Regions from separate parts of the Homo sapiens genome. Here region 1 is linked to region 2. Evidence: promoter capture Hi-C in 16 types of primary human blood cells and fetal thymus (Javierre and others, 2016). All regions are on one chromosome and are shown on one strand. Each heading gives the region's core, a stretch centred on a gene start or on the middle of the fragment in contact. The rest is flanking DNA. Distances are from core to core; before and after follow the strand shown.

Region 1 (4,142 bases), core at 673-3,172, 370 kb before region 2:
AAAAAAAAAAAATTACATGCCACCCAAATCAGGCATGGTTACGTGGAAGACAGTGACCAACTCCTTTTGTCACTTTCCAGTTCCCCACTCTGTGCTGGTAAAACAAGAAAGAGTCAGCAAGGAAACAAAGGTGATCATATGAAAGACTAACCAGCTATAGGTTACTAAGAAACCTCACAAAGCCAATCACTTAATTCAGCCATGCAAGCTACCACATACATGCCCAGGGTATGAGAGAGATAGGAAAACATGCCTTTAAAAAAATGAAATTTTGCCTTTCATTCTAGTACTTCTAGGTTAGATTTTCCAGGAACATGTGTTGAGAACATCTAGCCATTAACAAGTATCAAAGAGGATGAGCAAAGCAACAGAAGGTTAAGTGATAACAATTTGACAGAGTCAGAAGTTAACTACAGGTGTCTTAACTGTATTTGCAAGGGTGAACTACATACAATCATCACCAGCTCTAAGAGTTGAGGTTTGTTTTTTTCTGTTTCTTTTTTTCCTCCAATTGTCTCAAAATTAACATGATATTGAACTCAAATTGAACATGATGTTGTATTGACCCCATTAAAAAATTTAGAAATTTGTCCACATTTCCAAAAAATTTCTTATTTTCATCTCATCTTCTCAAAATTAACAAATTGAACATGATATCCTAGTGATCCAATTAAAAAAAAAATCTCGAAGCTTTTTACTTCCAAAGCCTTTAGGAAAATGTCCTTCTTGATTAAAAAAAAAATTTATATTTGAAAACCTATTGGGGAAAAAAATCAGGCAAGTCTAAGATGAACATGGAAAAATAAAAAGGCTTCGCCTTTCTGATCTATGAGTGTATAATTACATGAATTGAGAATTAACCTAACTACATGAAATACCAACATCTATGAAATATTTTTGTAATTTTTCTCCTAAGTCTTTAGAGGAAAACCATCCTTAATTTCTACAAAAACTAAAAAGCACTATTAAAACAAGCTTTCTTTTAAATTCCTTATTCTATGTTATCTCAGAATATTAAAATAAACTTTTATATTTTCTTTAGATTTATAACCAGTCTGTTCTAATTCCCATTTTGTAATAAAAATTCAAAAAGAACAGAGTTTGAGAATAGCATTTAAAAATTCTTATAGTATAAGCAACAGGAAAAAAAAAAGTTTAATACTATTATGATTTTTTTCTGTAATATAAAAACAGCTCTTCAGCAGTTTGCTGGTAACTTTTAAAGTGTGGAGTAAAATACACTCTGTGAAATCAAATACCAGATAATTCAGAGTAGAAAAATATAGCCTAGTTTCAATGAAGCGGCAACTGGCTTGGGAACAAGTGATGCCATTTGAGAACTAGAAAAATACTCACCTATAGGGTGTCTTGGATTGGTGGATGTGCAAGGTGTAGTAGAAAACAGAAAAACTGTTATAGAAAAAAAAAAAGACAGTAGGCCAAATTACTGAACCAACCGTTTCAAAATACCTCTGACATGACCAGCACTCTTGCACAAGTAAAATGAACAAATACCAGCATATGTGAACTGTTCATTTTGATTCTTTATTACAACATTATACTCCATTTCCTTCTGACCTCCTTCTTGCCACAGACATCATAAGGACCTTAGATAACTAATTTTTTTAAAACTTTCTTTATTAAAAAAAAATCACAAACTACTTCCTCTAAATATTAAAGATATTAAAGGCAAAAATCAGGCCATTGAAGTTAGAAGTATCCATCCAAGGAAGCACTCATGATATAACTCTTGCACTTACAAGAGTTCTAATCATCTCAAAAGCTAAACTTTGAAGTCAGCATTTTAGCCATGAAATTAAAATGTTCCATCCATGAAAATCTAGTGTATTTTTAAACTAAGAATTTATAGTCCCACAACAAGCCATTTCCTTTAGAAATTGAAAACTAGAAAAATTTTAAACCCAAATGTGAATGAAGCAGAAAGCTCAAAGCCAGTATCACTTTTACCTGCCTAAAGAGGGCAATATAGAAAAGAGGGAAACAAATTTGTGTCATCAAGAAACTTCCAGAACTTGTCTCAATCACTTAATAGTATTATAAATATATTAAAATTATAAAGCACAGGTAAAAGAAAAATGTTGGGAGCTAAAACATCCTCAATATTTATAAAAATTAAAAGGCACTAATAAATAAGTTTAATTCTTTGTGCCATGCTATCAGAAATTATTAAAATAAATAACATCTGTGCATTGCTGGTGGCTTTATTCCATTTTTATCCCTTTACTCTATTTATATTCCCTTCATATAAGATTTATTGAGAATCTCTTGTGAAAAGAAGGCACTGTCTGGATTCTAAAGATTCAGGATTCAATAAATAAGGTACAAATTTCTTTACATGCACATAAAATCAGCCTGTTATAAAACACACCTGTACTAGTTTCTGAACTATGGTAGTAACACAAATTAGCATTTTATGAAAATTAAATCACTTAAATTCTTTTTCTAATATTTTCATTCCCTAAGGACTTCAAGAATTTCAGTAAATGTGACACACTCCAGGTCAGGATAATTTAACTTGTCTACAACTCAAAAAAAAAAAAAATTTAAGAAGTGTTGCTATGGAAAAAGTCAGATATCCATGTGAGCAAACACAAAAGCATCCAAAATATACACAGACTGCTACAGAGAAATCCAGAAATCTATAAGCACAAACACAAGAGCAACCGAAGTATACACACAGGTAAGTACATTATTAATACTTTCATGCTATTCAACCAAAAAGAATTTCCCCTGTGAAATTCCAGATAACAATTTCTTTCTGGGGAAAGAAATGCATTTAAATTTTCACCAAGAAAAGACCTTATTCACCTTTTGAAATTATTCCCAACACCACACAGTACATAAACTCCAAAGCTTTTCAGACCATATATAAATGTATTAATTGAATGAAACCTCTCTAATAATTAAAAAGATAAAATATAGCACGCTTATCAGTCCCTTTTTTCTAAATCAACAATAGAAATATACAGGAGGCAAAAATTATATTTGAGGATGTCAGAAAAAGAGAATCATAGTTTTGTTTTGTTTTTTAAGAGTGTTAATACCAAAGGTCTTTTACTACCGATATTAACATCTCCTGCCTTGTTGTAGGACTCAGTAATTACTTGTGAACTTAAGGGGGCAACTATAAATCTTCCAGGCTATACCAAGGGTTCTCATTCTCCTTCCAAAGCTGACTGTGAAATGCTCAGTAACATATGTGTGTACACACACACACACACACACACACACGCGCACGCATTTGTTTCAGTAATAAATGTTGGACTAATGTCTAGTGACCAGCTAAAGTACTATAGCTCAAAGTGAGAGCTATTGAAAACCTAGAATAGTAATATCTGAGATGCATTTTTACAAAGTACAGATTCCTGGGACTCATTCCAAATTGAGTGAATCACAATCTATGGGTGTGGAGCCAGAAAATCAGAAATTTGTGTAAGTACACTCAGGTGATTCTTATGCACACTAAATCTTAAGAAACAATAAGAAAAACATTGCTTTTTAATATAGTTGACACTAACTCTGCCATTTTTCACTCCAATTGATAATATTAATCAATAGCTGAATCCGTCAGAAGGAGAAAAGAAAGTTCTGTCATGTATATTCTTGTGCATGTATGTTTTAAAGGATAGACATAAAATGAAACATGATCCCCACAGTATAAACAATATCAAGTAGGGTCTCCCACCTTACCACGCATATACATACAGCCCTTTAAAAGTGATTTAAGATTCCCTTTAAGACTGCCTTTCATGTTCATGTTACACTACTAAATACCAAACTTAATTTATATTAAGCATTTTAGAGCCTGGGGAAAAGAGAAAACATGCAAGAATAACTTACCACAGACTAAACCCTTATATTACACATCGATTTAGAGAGATACCTCTGAGTATAGGAGGACTAGCTGCCAAGAAAGGTGAAGCAAAAAGGAAGAACCAAAAAGGAATATAGAACAGAAGAAAAGAGAATCTTTTTCAATCTTTCCAGTGTTTCAGCACCTGACTCATGCACTCTCTTCCCTAGCGCTTTTGTACCCACTTATAACCTGGTTTGCCAACCTTTACCAATTATTTAAAAATTCCTCTTACATTATGTAACAGCTTCTTCTTGCCGAATTTGTT
Region 2 (4,226 bases), core at 1,453-3,952:
AGTTCTGTTCCATGAATCAGTCATTACTGCCTTCTCCATAGCCTTTCCTTCGTTCAAGTAAATTTAGAAATTTCTTAAGTTTTCTTTATAACAGGTAGCCTAAATCTATATCATACTTTTAAAATAAAAATCTAGGTGCAAATTTGTTCTTATGGTTAAGGTTAACATGTACACTTCACAAACATTGAGACTTTTGTTTTGTTTTCTGGGACAAGGTCTTGTTCTGTCTCCCAGCTGGAGTGGATACAAGCATGGCTTGCTTCAGCCTCAACCTCCCGGACTCAAGTGATCCTCCCACCTCAGCTTCCTGAGTAGCTGGGACTACAGGTGCCTGCCACCATGCCCAGCTAATTTTTAAACGTTTTGTAGAGACGCGGTCCCATTGTGTTGCCCAGGCTGGTCTTGAACACCTGGCCTCAAGCGATCCTCCTACCTCGGCCTCCCAAAGTGCTGGGATTACATGCATGAGCCACCATGACTGGCCTAGACTTTTTGATTTAAAGAGACTTTTTGGATAGAAATGCTTTTCTCTATTACAGTTATAAATGACTAAAAATACTAGCTATGCCAAAATGGCAACCAGAGGCCGACTGCAAAGCTTCAAAAGGCTTGATGCTCTCCTGGTAGACAAGTCTTCAGTCTCTTAAATGTTTTTTTCATATGTTGACATTGAAATTTCATTTTGTGTAGATGTTGGGATTATGTCTCATTCATTTATTTATTCATCATTCACTTAGTAAGTATTTAAGTGCCTGTTTTTCCCAGGTGCTCTGCCAGGTTCTGGGGATATAAGGATGAGCCAACATAGGCTCTCTGCCCTAAAGTTAGTGGGAGAAACAGTAACAAAAGATTTTAATACTATGAGATTAACTGACTTAGTTGTGGTATGTAGAAAGAGACACAGAGCCTGCAGCAAGAGCCTAGGTGAAGACTCAGTGAAGCACTACCTATTGAAAGGAGAATCTTTCAAATCCTTAACAGTTATTTTCACCATGTAAAAAAGGCGACATTGCCAGGGAACATCAAGTAAAGAGACAAATGCTCAGGTAAGCTTTTAAATCATATGAGATTGAAATAAGTTGATTCAGTAAATCAGGGAAACTTTTATTTTCAAATGAAGTAAGGAAGAAGCTAGGTAGAAATTAAAAATCCTATTTTGTATCACCTTTTGCTTATACTTAATGTAGTTTAAGCCATCAGTATATTATACTTTTCTGTGTATGTCGTCTACTCAACAGGAATTTTCTGTTCGCCTGCTATTTGGGTCAGTCATAGATGGTCCCATGTTATGAGAAAGATGTAAAGATGAGATAGATTCAGCTCCTTTTCTCGAGAAGATTATACCATATAAGGAAGTAATTTGCTGAATGGTCTCTCAGTTAGCCTGACTAGAATCTCTAAATCATGGTCTACACAGCAGTAATGAGGAACTTTGGCCCCTCAAGTGTCAATGAAGGCCAACTGGGGCACCTGGATTCCTATCTCCATCTGGCAGTAATGAGGTGGTAACCTCATTAACCCTGTTAGATTGGTGTTGGAGAAAGCCAGCTAAAACAGAAAGTTTAAATAAGATCCAGAGTCTCATAATATAAACTGAAAATGTTCAGACTTCAATAGAGACCAGCACTGAGATGACAAAGATGTTAGAATAAGCTCACAGACTTTTAAAGTTGCTATGAGAAAACTGCTTCAATGAGCAAATATGGATACACTTGAAGCAAATGAAAAAATAAAAATCCTGAGCAAACAGGAGATACAAAGAAGAACCAGATGAAAATTGTAGAACTGAAAATTACAATAGCCAAAATAAAAAGCTCAGCAGTTAAGCTCAACAGTAGAATAGAGAAGATGGAGGAAAGAATCAGTGAGCTGGAAGATAGAACAATAAAAATTACCCAATCTTAAAAAATGAGAAAATAGACTGGGGGTGGAGGGAAGAAGAGAGGCTTAAGTGGCTGTGGGGGCTATAATAATATTCATGTCATCAGAATCCCAGAAGGACGAGAGAAACAGGCAGGACTAAAAAACATACTTGAAGAAACATTGGCTGAAAACAGAGTAATCCTTGTAGTGGTGTCCTGATACACCTGATACAAGATAATATCCTGTATCTTGACTGTAGCTATGTCAAATCTTGGTTGTGATAATGTACCATACCTTAAACTATTAACAATAATTCTAGATATCATTAAATTTGTAGTCAGAGTTTTCGCATTTTCCTGATTGGCCCAAATGTTTTGAAGTCGGTTTCTTCACATCAGAATCCAAACCAGGTCCACCTGTGGCACCTTCACCCTTCAGTGGGAGTAAGGAGCCGGACGCGTCACTTAAAACCATTCCTCTTACGTTGTCACCCTCAATCTTACAGGTAAATGGCAAATTCTCTTTCGTATTAGTGTACATGCCTCGATAAAAGTCCAGAAGGGCGGCGGGGGCCTCGGCGGTTGAAGGCCCGCGTGCCCTGGCTCCTGCGAGGGGAGGGCGCCCCCGAGACAGACGTGGAGGGAGGGCGAGGGCCAGGCGCTGGGCTTCATCACTGCGTTTCCGTTTTCTGTGAAATCAAATGGCGCCTTTCCCTTTCCCGGGAAGTCGGTGTCACCGCCCGTTTGCTGTGAAATCAAATGGCGCCCTTCCTTTTCCCGGGACTTCGGCGTCACCGTCCAGCTGGCGTCGGGGCAGCACCCCGGGATCTGGCGTGGCGCATGCGCCCCGACGCTCGGGCCCGCGGGCTCCTTTCTCCGTCGCCGCTCCAGGACGCGGCCTCGGGGGAGCCCTACCGGGACGGAGCCGCGGGGCCTGCGACTTCCCCCGGAGCTGGCCTGAGGTGGGGCCCGGGGAGGCCTACGGGCCTGGGGGTCGCGGAGCCCAGGGAGGGCTGTGGCAGGGCCAGGGGGGCGCGCCCCGGAGGAAAGGCCCGCTTTGGCCCGAGGACGACACGGGAGTGGGTAGCCGGGCCTGTTGAAGCGCCTAGGGCGCCAAGGATCCCAGTTTGTTGGGTGACTCGGCTCAGCTTTTAGAAAGGGGCCGAGCGGGATTTGAACACTCCCTGAGCCCAAAGGCCTGGCTCTCAACGGTAACCGTCTTCCTCAGCCTCAGTTTACCTTTTCATCCCTCAGGGATTCTCCTGTCCATGGCTGCCACCAAAACTGCGAGTTATGATGAACATTTCAGGCCAGAAAAGTTAAGAGAATGGCCGGAGCCCGAGTCCGTTTCTTTAATGGAGGTGAGATAACGTGGCGTTTTGAGACGTCATTTTGGCGGGGGGACCCCTCGAGTTTGGGAACTGTTTATCTTAATTTCGCTTCTGTTCTCAGGATTGTGACAGTGCCTGCTTTAAAGCAGGCGTTGAAGGGGAATGTTCGGGCTCAGATTTGGCCGAGAGTGTGGCCAAGAGTGTTTCCAGTCGCCAGCCTGGGGGCTGGCGCACCGACGGGGGCGGGCAGCCGGGCGGGTGAAGGCAGCCACCCCAGCTCCCCGGCAGAAGCCAGGTCTGGGCTTGCCAGTCAATTCTGCATACTTCAGCGTCTGGTAATGATTTTCTCAAAAAGTTTCATTATTTTGTGTCATCCTATGATTTGCCTCGCTGTGAAAAACTCTTGGAAATTTCCTTTCTTTTTCCCCTTTTGCCCTAGTGGCGGTCGGAGCAGTGAGATGCTTAATTTTTCTATGTGTGTGCACAGAAAGCTGTGGATTTCGAAAAGTGCTGCTGCAAATCATGACCTTTTCCTTATATTTCCTGGCAAAATCACAAAGAAGAGCCATCAAAGACAAAAACTGTTTAATTTCTTTAAACAAAGATTATTTGAGAATCTGACTCAAGAATGTACATAACATTTGTTAACAATCTTACTAGGATGTTCTTTAAGAAGGTGACTTCCCAAGATGCTTGTCAATATGTTCTGCTTCTCCAAATAAATAAATAGATTCTAAATTTTTATTGTAGTGTCAGGATACATGTTTAATTGTTTTACATACTTTTTCAGTTGCCATCTTCATTTTAATTAAAAAAAATATTTTAGAGACAGGTTCTTGCTCTGTAGCCCAGGCTGGGGTGCAGTGGCCCAATCATAGCTCTCTGTAACCTCAGACTCCTGGGCTCAAGTAATTCTCCTGCCTGGGCCTTCAGAGCACTAGGATTACAGGCGTGAGCCACCCTGCCTGGCCTGTCTTCTTAAAATAAGTCTGAGAAGGCTTTAAAGCAAGATCCTGTTCCTATTACAAAGAGA

Evidence for each region. Contacts are between HindIII fragments. The CHiCAGO score rates a contact against its expected background, and 5 or more counts as called.
Region 1: a contact is called between a fragment that was not itself captured here and the fragment with the promoter of FAM228A in region 2, in 1 of 17 cell types (total B cells). The highest score is 5.0, in total B cells.

Annotation. Positions count from the first base shown.
Region 1 is chr2:23,800,088-23,804,229 of GRCh38, forward strand. All of the region lies in intron 18 of ATAD2B (ATPase family AAA domain containing 2B), which reads right to left. Among named protein-coding and RNA genes, the nearest start is that of ATAD2B, 120 kb to the right of the region's middle. The HindIII fragment of the contact is 1,899 bases long and covers 974-2,872 here.
Region 2 is chr2:24,172,351-24,176,576 of GRCh38, forward strand. FAM228A (family with sequence similarity 228 member A) reads left to right here and starts at 2,703. Exons shown (of 6, transcript NM_001040710.3): 1 at 2,703-2,824; 2 at 3,117-3,223. The coding sequence starts at 3,131. LOC105374328 (a long non-coding RNA gene) reads right to left here and starts at 2,446. Exons shown (of 4, transcript XR_939833.4): 1 at 2,158-2,446. The HindIII fragment of the contact is 4,096 bases long and covers 1,050-4,226 here.